Regions from separate parts of the Homo sapiens genome. Here all the other regions are linked to region 1. Evidence: promoter capture Hi-C in 16 types of primary human blood cells and fetal thymus (Javierre and others, 2016). All regions are on one chromosome and are shown on one strand. The core of a region is centred on a gene start or on the middle of the fragment in contact, and the rest is flanking DNA. Distances in the headings are between cores, read along the strand shown.

What was found. The method cuts DNA at HindIII sites, captures the fragments that hold promoters and counts their contacts. A CHiCAGO score of 5 or more calls a contact.
Region 2: a fragment that was not itself captured here is called in contact with the fragment with the promoter of KL in region 1 in 1 of 17 cell types (M2 macrophages); the score reaches 5.1 in M2 macrophages.
Region 3: a contact is called between a fragment that was not itself captured here and the fragment with the promoter of KL in region 1, in 1 of 17 cell types (M1 macrophages). The highest score is 5.1, in M1 macrophages.

What each region holds. Positions count from the first base shown.
Region 1 is chr13:33,013,845-33,018,480 of GRCh38, reverse strand. KL (klotho) reads right to left here and starts at 2,058. Exons shown (of 5, transcript NM_004795.4): 1 at 1,222-2,058. The coding sequence starts at 2,040. It overlaps LOC124903151 (translation initiation factor IF-2-like), which reads left to right and starts at 2,028. Exons shown (of 2, transcript XM_047430819.1): 1 at 2,028-2,645. The coding sequence starts at 2,039. RefSeq lists enhancers at 1,033-1,092, 1,301-1,878, 1,879-2,454 and silencers at 1,163-1,262, 1,953-2,022. The HindIII fragment of the contact is 5,190 bases long and covers 1-4,120 here.
Region 2 is chr13:32,678,382-32,683,017 of GRCh38, reverse strand. It overlaps PDS5B (PDS5 cohesin associated factor B), which reads right to left. Exons shown (of 35, transcript NM_015032.4): 10 at 4,089-4,183. Among named protein-coding and RNA genes, the nearest start is that of PDS5B, 94 kb to the right of the region's middle. The HindIII fragment of the contact is 3,730 bases long and covers 159-3,888 here.
Region 3 is chr13:32,737,449-32,742,084 of GRCh38, reverse strand. PDS5B (PDS5 cohesin associated factor B) reads right to left here. Exons shown (of 35, transcript NM_015032.4): 22 at 937-1,005. Among named protein-coding and RNA genes, the nearest start is that of PDS5B, 150 kb to the right of the region's middle. The HindIII fragment of the contact is 171 bases long and covers 1,818-1,988 here.

The sequences.
Region 1 (4,636 bases), core at 809-3,308:
TGGAACTGACATAAAATCTAATTTAGCCATTATTACAACATTACCAGCAGCTCAGAGCACTAAGTCACCTCAATAACCCAGTACTGCTCTGCCCATATTATCTATGGCTTTAATTAAAAGTGTTTAGAAATGGTTTTAGTACTGACTTTGTTCAGAATATGTGGCTGAATTCTAAATTTAAAAATAAGTCTTCCAGTAGGCCCACAAGTGATCAGAATTGGGTACCAAAAGTTGTACATTTAAACACTTTTATTAAAATGTTTATACATGTACATAAAATATTTTATTGTGATACAAAACTCTGTACAAAGTGTACTAACAACTGACATGATTATAAATGAATCCCCAAAACAATGGTGCCTAAATTTGAACACTAAGGAGAAAAAAGGAGGAAGAAATACTTGAGACAACTTTACCATGGCATAGCAATATTTCCTGCTGTCAAAATTAATAAAATATTTTGCACAAGGGTGTTACAATTAATTTTATCAGGCTAACAATGTCATAAGTGAGGAACCCTTTCAACTGTAGAGAGCACTGTGGAAATATAGATGTGGTAGAACAATCTATATCACCCTGCAGTTGTTTCTGTGTTTCTATGACTAGCTTTGTTTGAGATTGTATAAAGCGGTCTTCACACCCCGGTGAATAAGATTGGTGGATGCAGTTCCCTGCCCTGCCGCAGAAGGGACCTCCAAACACAGTTTAAATCTGACTCTCCGGGAGTTGTGTTTTGACACTTTCACAACAGTGTGAACTTGTGCCACAAGCAAGACAGATCTTATTGGATTAACACTGAACTCGTGACAGCTCCAGAGAGTAATGCTATCTGTGCGGCTTAAGAACAAACGTGTTTCTTTCATCCACCCTGCTCATTCTCTTCCTGCAGTTACTCCTAGCAAATCCTCCCCGCCCTCACCTCTAGGAATTCCTCTACACCCAGAGAAAGGAGTTTCTTTCCTCACTGCGGAAACCTATCACCGCTTCCTTTCCACAGATGGACTCCAAGGGGCACTCACTCGTGTGCCCACTAAGGGATTTCTCTCCTAATTCCACGCCTTCCAAGGGAAGTCAGAACTGCTCAGTTTCCCCCGGTGACCACATACACGTGTCCAAGTGAAGCCTCGTCTGGGGGAGACTCAGTTCCCACACTTCCCCCTGGCCCCTGTGGAGGCCCTCTGTCTCCCCTGCGTGGCCCTCCGCCTGGCCCCTCGCACTCACCAGGAGGAGGTTGTGCGCCACCAGGTACCCGAGCCGCGGGCTGCCCCGGATGCCGGGGGCCAGGCGCCCGGTGGCGTAGCCGTGCCAGGCCACCACGTAGGGGTTGTCGATGGTGATCCAGTACTTGACCTGACCGCCGAAGTGGCGGAAGCAGAGCTCCGCGTAATCCCTGAAGTGGTCGGCCAGGGCGCGGTTGGCCCAGCCGCCGTAGGCGTCCTGCAGGCGCTGGGGCAGGTCCCAGTGGTACAGGGTGACCACGGGCTGCACGCCCAGCTCCCGCAGCCGCTCCAGCAGGCGCCGGTAGTAGCGCAGCCCCTCGCGGTTGGGGACGCCCGCGCTGCCATTGGGGAGCACTCGCGCCCACGAGATGGAGAAGCGGTAGTGAGTGACCCCGAGCTCGCGCAGCGCCTCCGTGTCGCGGAAGACGTTGTTGTAGCTGTCGCTGGCTACGTCCCCGGTGGCGGGCTGCAGCGGCGACGGGGCGCCCAACGGCAGACTGGCGTTCCGGGAGTCTCCCGGGGGTGCCAGGGGGTGGTGGGTGAACGTATCCCAGATGGACGCACCCTTGCCGTGCTGCTGCCAGCCGCCCTCGGTCTGGTAGGCGGCGCTGCCCACGGCCCAGAGGAAGCCGTCGGGGAAGGTGCCCTGGAAGAGGCCCGCGGCCTCGGGGGCAGGAGGCCGCGAGAAACGGGCCCAGGTCTGCGCGCCGTCGCCCGGCTCCGCACGCAGGCGGCGGCCGCCCAGGCCCAGCAGCACCAGCAGCAGCGACAGCGACGGCGGCGGCGGCCGCGGGCGGCGCGGCGGGGCGCTGGCGGGCATGCTGCGCGGGAGCCAGGCTCCGGGGCCCCGCGCCGCGCCCCTTTATGCCCGCGCCCCGCCGCGCCCGCCCGCCCACCGCCGGCGCGCCCACCCCCGCTCCCCGGCGGGCTCCGCTGGCAATAATTACCTGCGAGCCGGGACTGCCTCCGCCCTGGCACTGGGGGCGGGGGCAGGGGCGCCGAGGGCGAGGGGTGCCCGGGAGGGGCGCGGCAGCGGGCAAGGTGCGGCAGGCGTCGCCCGCGGACGTCGGAGAAAGGCACCTGTTTCTCCCAGCTCCCGGGAGCCGTGCAGGACGTTTCGTGGACGCTCAGGTTCATTCTCTTTGCCTGCCGCGCGTCCTCTGAGAGCAGCCCTGGAGCGGCTTCGTCGGGGAGAAAAGGCGCCGACCAACTTTCCCCGACTTGGGGGCGGGATCCTGCCGGGCCCTAGCGGAGCGCGCCGCTGGGGAAGCACCTGCTCTCACTTTTCTCCCACTCGGAGGCCCAAAGAAGCTCCGGCTGGACATTGCTGGAGCCAATTAGGGACTGGCCGAAATCCTAGAGGGACTGCCAGGTGGGACAGCCGAGGGGGAACTTCGCCGTGCGCTGAAAGGGATTCCCCCTTAGGTGAGATGCTCGCGGGGAGACGCGCCCACCCGCGCCCCTCTTTCGAGGAAGACAAAGTAGATTTATGGGTTGCGTTGGGACTGGGGTTTTGCTCTCCCTTTTACTGTTACCTTTTAATAATTTCAAACCAGCACTCTATCTTTGATTAGATCTCTCAGAATACCCTGGTGAACTTCAAATCACAGTCGTTGATTGTTCTCCTGAAAAACCAAACACCAAGTTTCCAATTTTGAGTAAATCTCATTCACCTTTATTATCCTTTGGCATCTGTGTTACCTTTCGGCTCTGACTTAGCAGGTAATCTGTGCAAAGTTGTGCGCACAGGTCTGCTGGAGCGGGAGGTCCCTGGGTCGCACATTTGCCATCTGAGCTGTGGAGGGAAAGGGGAGGGAGAATTTAGCCGGAACACCCATTCCCATCCTCTACAATACAATGGAGCCATGACGTTTTTCCTGTTGCCAAAGAGCCCTTTTGACAGAAGTTGCAGAGCCACAGTGTCCATTTGGATGTGGGTAGATAGGATTGTGGCTAACCGAAATACAGTTGGTGGAGACTGAGAAGGTCTAGGCTCCACCTTTGTGATTTGGGGCAGGAAACCTCTGTAAGCCTAAGTTTCCTCCTCTATAAAATAAGGATGTCCTGTCTGCCCTGCCGCCTCAGAGGCTTGTGAAGTCCAGTGAAAAACTGCGCAAAGGTGACTCAAAGACAGAAAGCCCAGACAAGTGAAGGATCTTGCTAATATCCCTACCTCCCTACCCAGTAAGTCGTGCCTTAGTTTCCTCACCCGTACACGTGTGTTGAATGACCAAGATCCTCACAGAGGTGCATCCATTCTCCCCCAGTGATCTATCTTCCCTGCATTATTTAATACAAATTTAAAGGCAATAACATTTTAAATGTTGCAGATGAAGGTGCTTTTATTAATTCCCCTGAAATATAAGCACAAATTTATTCCAGTATTTTATGAAATATTCCCAACTCCAGCCAGCATATATTACCATGATTAGTAAGATTAAGTCTTCAGATTGAAACAGAGTTACTGCCATTCTGTTAAATATAGCATTTACATTTTTTCAATAAATACGAAATAGCAAACCATGACACTTCAGCAATTTTAAAAAATTACAGCACACAACTTCACTGTCACGCTGTCTTCCAGCTAAATTTAAAAAGCTACGTCTACATGGAGTATCACATTTCCCTTCTAGAAGTGAAGATTGGAGTGTCTGTTGGGTTGTAGCTTGTTAAGTTTCAATTAGAAATGCTTCATGGGTCTCATGGAAAATCGCTTAAGCTAAGTATTCATTTATTGATGTATGGTCTGTTTGCTCAGGGCAGATTTTATCTATTGCTATTTTTACTTGACCAGCAGCATTTTTTAAATTTTAAAGCAGTGATTAAAAAGCAAGACCAAGTTAACTAAACGTTTCACATTTGAAATTTGTCTGCCACATAGGCACATGCATCTCAAAGCTTTAAGCATTCCAAGACATGTTCCCAGATGATTGTTCATTTAACCCAGTGATAAAGATTGCATGATGATTAAACTTTATTTCCAGAACTTTCTGTTTATTAAGGTTCTGTTCATGGTTACTAAGTTCTGGGTTCCACAAGTGTGAGACGGAGTCTCACTCTGTCGCCCAGGCTGGAGTGCAGTGGCATGGTCTCTGCTCACTGCAACCTCTGCCTCCCAGGTTCAAGCAATTCTCCTGTCTCAGCCCCCCAGTAGCTGGGATTATAAGGGCACACCACCACACCTGGCTAATTTTTGTATTTTTAGTAGAGACAGGGTTTCACCATGCTGACCAGGCTGGTCTCAAACTCCTGATCTCCTGTGATCCACCCACCTCGGTCTCCTAAAATGCTGGGATTACAGGTGTGAGACACTGTGCCCGGCCTAGTGCTGCTGCTTATTTATTTTGGCTTTATTTTGGTTTTTATTTTTTACAACCACCTTCAAACATCTGAAACTTGGGTTTCAAATGCAAATA
Region 2 (4,636 bases), core at 774-3,273, 340 kb after region 1:
GTTTTTTAAAAGGGACAAATAACAAGAGAAGAGATCACAACAAGAGATCACAGGCAAGAGATGTGTCAACAAAATTTTGGCAGATGGACAACAAGTAAATGTCACAGGACAAAGGAAAAGGATGAAACCCAAATGGGAAAGAAAACAATACACAAGCTTATTTCCAGGAAGAACACTGAAAACATTTAAAATAGTTGAAGAACCTATAAGAATGGTTAAAAACAAAAAGACTGAAAACACAAAATGTTGTCAAGGACGCTAAATGACTGGAACTCTCATTCATTGCTGGTACAAATGTAAAACAGTATAACTAATATGGAGACTGTTTTCACTGTCTCTTATAAACATGTATCTACACTATGACCAGCAATTTAATTACTGTTTTCAAAAAGAAATAAGAACATAAGCCCACAGAAATACTTGTATAAGACTATTCACAGTAATCACTATTAATAGCCCCAAATCAGAAACAACCCAGATAACCATCAAAAGAAGTGGGTAAACAAATTATGGTATATTCATACAACGGAATAATAATAAAGAATAAATTAACAAAACAGGATAAATTTCAAAAACATGTTATGTGAAAGCAGCCAGATCTCTCTCCATTCCCCACCCTCAAAAAGAATAGTACACATTGTATGATTCAACATATATGAAATTCAGAAACAGGCAAAACTAACCTACAGAAATAGAAACCAGAAAATGGTGAGAGAACTAACTGGAAGGGGATACAGGGGGACTTTTTGGCATCATGGAAATTCACTCTCTTCAAACATCAAACTGAACACTCAGGATCTGTATATTTTAAGCTAATTACACTTTTTTTAAGTTAAAAAAAAGGAAACTGTAGAACAGACTCTGATATTTTCTCTAAAATATGGATAAATCTGAGTTAGCTGTTCAGGTAGTCATCCAAATACCTTATCAATTAGGATTCACAGAGCTTTCCATATACCCCTGTGGCAGAGAATAATTAAGTGAGAAACTTGTGGAGGCATGTTATCTCTGTATGTCATATCCAAACATTTAAATATTACAATATATACTACTTTATTATAAATGACTTCCCTTTTGTTTCTCCTGTATATTACAAATAGGGCAATTAATTTTTTAACTTTTTAAGTGGATTGTTTTATCTATTCATTTTATTTAAGGATCTCAAAGGGAGAATTACAAATTATTTGCTTAAAAAGGGAGGTACTGGGTCTGATAAGGTTGAGAAGCACTACAGTATAAGGTTCACACGGATAAAGTGAAATGATCCTGCTAGTCAGGAATGAAGCTGGAGAAACGTAAAATGGAACAGGGTATATGGGGTTTAAAAGAAAATAATTGAAGATGTGATTGAAACTACTAAAAAAAAAAATCAAAGCCTCACTTTTTTTTTTTGAGACTGAGTCTTGCTCTATCGCCCAGGCTGGGGTGCAGTGGCGCGATCTCTCGGCTTACTGCAACCTCTGCCTCCCAGGTTCAAGCAATTCTCCTGTCTCAGCCTCCCGGGTAGCTGCGATTACAGGTGTGCACCACCACACCCGGCTAATTTTTGTATTTTTTAGTAGAGGTGGGGTTTCACCATGTTGGCTGGGCTGGTCTCAAACTCCTGACCTCAAGCAATCTGCCCGCCTCGGCCTCCCAAAGTGCAGGGATTACAGGCATGAGCCACCGTGCCCAGCCTCAAGCCTCACTCTTTCAAACAAAAGCAAGGATTGCTTTATTACTCTTATACTTTTATCACTTTATCTAGCAGTGAAAACCTCTGAAACCTGCCATCATATTTCAGCTAGGGGAGAAAGAAAGAATCTTCTATAGAATGAGATACCGCAAGCCCTCATCTGTAACAACAGTGAGTAGAAGTTAAAAAGCAAGAAATGACTGACTCTAAGGCTACTGGGAAACAGGAGATGGGAAGCCAATATGAGCCTAAGAAGGAAACGTATACGTTGGCAGGATATTTCCAGCACTGCCTCTCTCCTACTCAGTCAGTATAAATCCTTTGCGGCCTATGTAACCTAACATGACAGCAAATTCAGTGAAAGAGAAATTCTATTTAGCCATGTACAAATCAAATTGGTGCACACTGCTACACATTATCAACAGCAAAAAAGCAGGGGTCTGGTTTTACTTAATAACTGAAAAACATGATTTAAATATTTCAATAAAAAAAATTCAAAATCAGCCTGGGCAACAGAGTAAGACCCTGTCTCTTAAAAAACAATTTAAAAATCACAACTAAGCAACCAACTCAATATACACTACACTCTTCAAAAGGCATAGGAACTAGCAACAAGAACTTCTGGATCTTAAAACAAGGAAGAGAAGGAAGGACTGGGTGAAGGCTGTTTGAGAAATCCATCAAGGAGATTGCCCCTATTCCACACCAAAAGAAGTCTGGAGATAAATACTATAATAAAAATATAAAACAGTAGCTCTAAACTGGGGGACCCCAAACGGTTGAGGGCATGGATACCATACCCAAAAGGGGATTATGTGACAACTAATCTGAAATGTGAATGCAGAAACCCATCATTCTTTTCCCAAACACATTAGTAACTCACCTTTAACTTCTAGATAAGATACTCTTCTATTAGAAATTTGACAGGATGAAGAGGAAGTATCTAAACTAAGGGCTCCCCAACAAACAACTCACTCTGATCACCCAAAAGTGAAGTTCAGAGTTGACAGACCCAACCATGTACTCAGAGTGTTCCAAATAGTTTACAGCTTTTTATTCAGCCCCCCACTCTTAATCATGAGCAGACAGCCACAGATTGCCAATCATTTGAGGAAAGCATATACTCAGGGCTTTCCAAACAGCTTTTGATTTAGCCCCCCCACTCTTAATCATGAGCAGACGGCCTCGGATTGCCAATCATTTGAGGAAAGCCTTTAACATGGAAAAAAAGACAAAAGCAAATATAAGGTGAAAAAAACAAATAGCAGATACAGACATTTTGGAAGAAAAAGAAAAATTCCCCAAAAAACTACCTACCATTGACACTCTCAGAGAAAATACTGTATTAGCAACACAAGAAAAGGATGCTAAAGAAAAAGGAACATCCAGAGAAAAAGGGAAGGAGAAAGGGGAGGTGTAGAAACAGACACACACACACACACACACACACACACACACTCACAGACGAAGAGGAAAGGAGGGAAAAAGAAGGGAGGAGGATGGAAGGGGAGAGCAAAGATGGGAGGAAGAATGGATGGCCCTAAGGTCAATGCTGTAGAGCAGAAGCTCAGAGCAAGCTGTCTAAGCACTGCAAATTTGAGTAGGAAATCAGAAAGCTCCAAGTGGGATGTCTCCCAAAAAGGATGAAACTGGTAAAATATCTGCTGTTTTATTCATTTATTTATTTATTTTTTTTTTTTTTTTGAGATAAAGAGTTTCGCTCTTGTTGACCAGGCTGGAGTGCAATGGCACAATCTCAGCTCACTGCAACCTCTGCCTCCCAGGTTCAAGCAATTCTCCTGCCTCAGCCTCCTGAGTAGCTGGGATTATAGGCGCATGCCATCACACCCAGCTAATTTTTGTATTTTTAGTCGAGACGGGGTTTCATATTGGTCAGCATGGTCTTGATCTCCTGACCTCAGGTGATCTGCCCACCTTGGCCTGTGCTCGGCCTGAAGCTAGAATTTCTACAGCATAGTTCCTACATAGGTTGGAAGCATCTATGAAAATGTCTGTCTCCAGGAACAATTACTAGTTTCTTAGTTTAAGGACAATTCTAAACTTATTTTAGACATTTGGATTTGAACAGGTCTTGACTTTGACTAGATTATAAGACTAATGTTCTTCAATATTTTAAGAACTTAGGTGAGTCATGGTAAACTAATTTAACCAAGGCAGAAGGACAGCTTGAGTTCAGGAGTTCTAAGCAAGCTTGGGCAACATAGCGAGACCTTGTCTCTATTTTAAAAAAAAAAAAAAAAATCTAGCTTCAGAGAACAACTTCCATGACCTTAAACTAAAACAAGACTTCACCTACCACCCCCGAAAAAAGGGGTTTTTTTTCCCCCTATGAAACTTATTTTTTTCCACTGAAGAGCACGTAAGAATATTTGCTGTTACATATATATAGTACCTGTTAAGTCTTTTGCTAAATCAGGATGGTTCATGAGACAATGGCTAGCAAATTTCACACATTCCAGGCGGATTGGTACATGGATATCATTAAACCTGATAAAATATAAAAGCACAGAGTGAGCTTCAAAATAAGAGAAACAGACATGTGTTAAATCTGTACCCAATTTACATTTATCTAATTAAAGAAAAAACAGTTTATGAAGGAAAATGCAAAGTAGAACCAAACCATTTTACAAAGTTTCTGATATACATGTATGTCTGAATGCTCTGGAAACTCTATACAAACTAGAGCAATCTCCTGTGAGAACTATGTGATTTTAAGGAACCTGAATAAACCATATACATTTGGCTCAAATATAAGAATGATAAAAAAGTTCCTATCAACGTTATACTCTCAAATACATCTATTTATGCAAGTGTGCATATATAGTTCATAGAAACATCATAAATCTCAAACTATGTTTGAAAGAAAACTTTCCCTAAAGTATTCCCTTTTAAATATAGGGCATTCACTAATGTATGGCAGATCTCACACTAAACCCTACA
Region 3 (4,636 bases), core at 654-3,153, 280 kb after region 1:
CAGCTTTTTACAGAGCTAAGGCTCAGATGCTAAGAGGGTCTTCGATAGTGTCTGGCTCACGGCAAAGACGGAAGATCTCTTTCCTGGCCAGTTGGTAAGTATGCCTACCAACTGGTAAGTTGGTAAGTGGCCTACCTTCTAGTCCAGTGCTGCTTTCAAGTATACAAAAACTGCAGCTTGAGACCAATGCCGAGAAAAACAGGTTTATACTGAGACTCAAAGTATCAAGCATCATTCATTGATGTAAAGGTGGGGCTATTGTACAAGTCTGCAAAACTAGTATCATAACCTCCAGCTAGAACAATGTGAAAAGGTAGTTCGTAATACGAACTATAAACAAATACACACACACACACACACACACACACACACACACACACACACAGACTGAAAGGGTTTATAAGAAATTACAGCTAGAAAATAACAATATTTAATGTATGTATTTTTGGCCTTCATATCTTGGTAGTGGATTGACATGAGGTCTACACTACAGGCCATAGATGGTTTTAATAAATCAAGAGTCTATACCAATGATGAGCAATCTTATAAAACTCCTAATTCAATAAATTATAGGCTGAATTTTTTAAAAATAAAAAGTTTTATTAAATCCCATGGAAAAGATGAATAGGCTTAAAATCTGAACTATCATCTTTACAGAACAGAGGAAAGTCCATAAAAACTAGCACTGCCTTTTGCCATCAGGGAAACAGCTTTCAAACCTTTTTTTCTCCTCAAATTAGATTATGTGCAGCTGTCCACAAAATCCCAGCTTTCTCATTATTACCCTATAGTCTCACAGCACATAAGACATCATACAATAAATGTAAATACTTGAGTGACTTTAATATCTTTCCAATAGAAATAGAAATTTTAATACCTCAAATATTACAATGTGGTGATTATATTAAAATCAATAGATCTATGCACATTACTCACTTTGACCATTGTCTCAGGAGATACTTCTTCATCTGGAACCCAAAGTTTAGTTGTCTTTTTCCCTGGAAGCTAAAAATAAACGAGAAAAAAAAAAAAACCAGGGACTTTAAAATGTAAATATGAATTCTTTTCAATTAGCACTTAGAAAATGAATGAAATCTGTACCTTCTGCAGTGACATTTGTTATATATGACTAAAGTACTTCATCTAACCCTATTTACTTTAAAAAAAAAAAAAGGTTGAAAGGCATACCTTCACTAGCGCCTATGTACAGCACTTATAGATCCATCACGACTGGTTCTTTCTAGGTCTGTGGTGGGACTAACTCTAACTTCTTACACATCACTCCCTTATTTAGCCCCTTTTGAGATTCAATTATTTAATGCAAGAACTAGGATTTTAAAAAAACATGGAGCCAAAAGGTGTAGCTCTTAAACAAGAAGAAAGGTATAAAAAAAAAAAATCTTGAGCTGGAGGGGTTTTGTTTTTGTTTTCAGCACAACTCCAAACTAATCCTGAGGTGATCATGTGCAAGTACTAGCAGGTAGGTGTTTACAGTAGTAACCAGGAAATTAAAATAAGATGGCAAAAGAGCTGAACCAATCTTGGAACACTTGAGATCCCATTTTTTACCCTCAGGTCAAAGAACAGGAATTGAATATCACCTCAGGTAACCCTCTGGTAACAAAACAGGTAGCCCCCAACATCTAAAAAGGCAAACTCCCTCAAACACAAAGAGCTACAGATTCACACACAGTTTATAACTCATTTCTTCCATTGAGAAGTGCCTTCAAAGTATGAAGTAAAAATAATGAAAAAGGAATCACATTAGGCACCTTGTGATGAAATTTCTAACTAAGGATGTCAAGATCCCAAAAGCTTCCATAAAGAAACTACCAAAAAGGAATAAAAGATTAACTTCAGATTTCTCAGCTGCAAGACCAGATGCCAAAAAAACAATGCTCTGAATTTTCAAGTGACTTGAAACACAGAATTCTAATATCCAAAAAACAGTACTGAAGAATGAACACTAGAATTCAAGACAGAAAGCTTCCAAATTACAATCCATGTTGAAAGAATTACTCAAAGATAACACTATTTAATTCACAAGAAAAAACTAAATTAGTATAAACTATTACAAATACAAAGAAAAATGAAAACAAAAACCTTACATAAATAAGAAACTATCAGATACTACCAGAAACAACAGAGACTATCAGGTAGATTTATAAATAATAAAGCCACAAAAGATACAATAAAAACAAACAACATAAGAAATCTGAAAATTATGGGATGGAAAAATATACCAGTCAAGATGAAAAGCACTGAAGAGGATATGGACTTAAATGGGATACTGATATATTTTATCTTACAACACCAAATAAAATATAAAATTCATGAACATTTACACAACTAGCAGAATAACATCAAAATAAACCAGAACCAACATGATTAAAATCAGAAGATTGAATACTTCATCACAGCAGAATATGTGAATATATCTCTTTCAAAAACTGGTAAGTTAGGATGAAAAAGGATAAATACCTAAAATGGAAGTAAATATACAGAAATAAAATATGCAAGCATTAGAAAATAATCAAAGCTGGCATTCTTTATAATTGACAAAATTAGAATTTAGCAAGAAAGATGGATATAAAATCAGAATTACCAAATAATTCACCTTATCAATCATAAACATAAAACATAATCTTAAAAACTTTATTTAGTGCCTAACATAAGTTGTGTGAGAGAAATTTAAAATTTTTCTTTTTAGAGAAAACTATAAAACATTAAGGAAAGACATCTTGTGGATGGGCAAACGCATCAGTGGAAAAGAACAGAGGCTCTATAGGAGACATGAGTGGTAGCACTGCAGATTACCAGGAGATGGTAAGATATTTAATAAACAGTGCTGGGAAATTTGGTAACCCTAACATGCAGCAAAAATGAAATCCTTATATCACAGCATACAAAAAAAAAAAGTAAATCAATTCCAGATGGATTGATTTTTGTGTGTGTAAAAAAAGAAAACCTTCAAAGTTTTAGAAGAACATATGGGAGGCTATTTTCATGACATTAGAGTAGGAAAAGATTTCTTAAATAAGATGTAAAAAGTATTAACTACCAAAGAATAATGATAAATACAGCTACATTAAAAGTAATAACTTTTGTTCAGGCCAGGCGCGTGGTGGCTCATGCCTGTAATCCCAGCACTTTGGGAGGCTGAACTGGGTGGATCACGTGAGTTCAGGAGTTGGAGACCAGCCTGGCCAACATGGTGAAACCCCATCTCTACTAAAAATACAAAAACTAGGTGGACATGGTGGTGGGCGCCTGTAGTCCCAGCTACTCGGGAGGCTGAGACAGGAGAATGGCTTGAATGTGGGAAGTGGAGGTTGCAGGGAGCCGAGATGGCGCCACTGCACTCCAGTGTGGGTGACAGAGTGAGACTCCATCTCAAAAAGAAAAAAAAAGGAATAACTTTTGTTCAAAGGATCAAAGGACACAATAAAGGAGTGAAAAGACACACATAAATGAGGTTTTACACACTTCATGATGATACTATAACATGTACCAGATAAAAGATTAATATAGGTACAGATTGCCTATGGGAAAAAAACACCAAGGGGAATAAAAGGTAAAATACATCAAAAGGGAATTTCAGAAAGTAGGCAACATGAATGGTGACTAGACACACAAACTTAATTAGTAACCACAGAAATGCACATTGGGACTATAATGAGCTATAATGAGATACTGTATCTATTAGATATTTTCTCCCAACAGTGTATAATAACATTATTGTCAGATTTCTTAATAGAAAAATAAGTTTTAACAAACATTATAAAAAATGACTTAAAAAAAGTGAAAAGTTAAATATGTCTATATACCGTGATTCATCAACTTCACTCGTAGGAATAAAACCTAGAGAAATTCTTGCTCATATGTAGCAGGGGGCTTCAATAGAAACATTCATAGCAGCACTGTCCGAAAGAGTAAAGAAATGGAAATATTCCACAATCTACTAGAAGAATAAATAAATTACGAGATATTTTCCACAGTGAAATTATAGAGTAACAAATGAATGAACCACAGTTAGATTTAGTAACGAAGATTATTCTTAGAAACAAATGTGGAGTGATAAAAGCAAATCCTCCAAGACTATACAGGGTATGATATAATGCTTAGAAACCTCAAGAACAAGCAAAACTAAACAAGTATGTGGTAAATTTTGTTGCTGTTACAGATTAACCCAAGATTCAAGAGAGTAGATATTAGGGACAAGGAGGAAGTAGAAAGGATTGAAGAGTAATAAAACTCTAAGAACTCTAAGGAACTAAGAGTTCATAGGTGTTCATTGTATTATGAAACATGTTATACAAATGTTACATATATTCCTTTGTACATATCAAATATATAATAAAACAAGACAAATTAATGGATTAAAAATGGTGAGCAGTTCTGTTTCTGACAAGATGTGACTAGGTTGTTTTGAACCAATTTTCATACTGAAACAAACGGAAAGGCTAAACAAAATATTTTTTAAAAATCAGTTTGAAGGCAACAGACAGCTACCAAAGCAGTGAGAATTTGCAGGGCAAAGTTTCAAATAAGGAGGGAAAGCAAAGATTTGAGTCTGGCACTGAGATTAGTTTTTTCACACAGACGATTAATGATTCTGAAAGTGAAAGGGGGATAA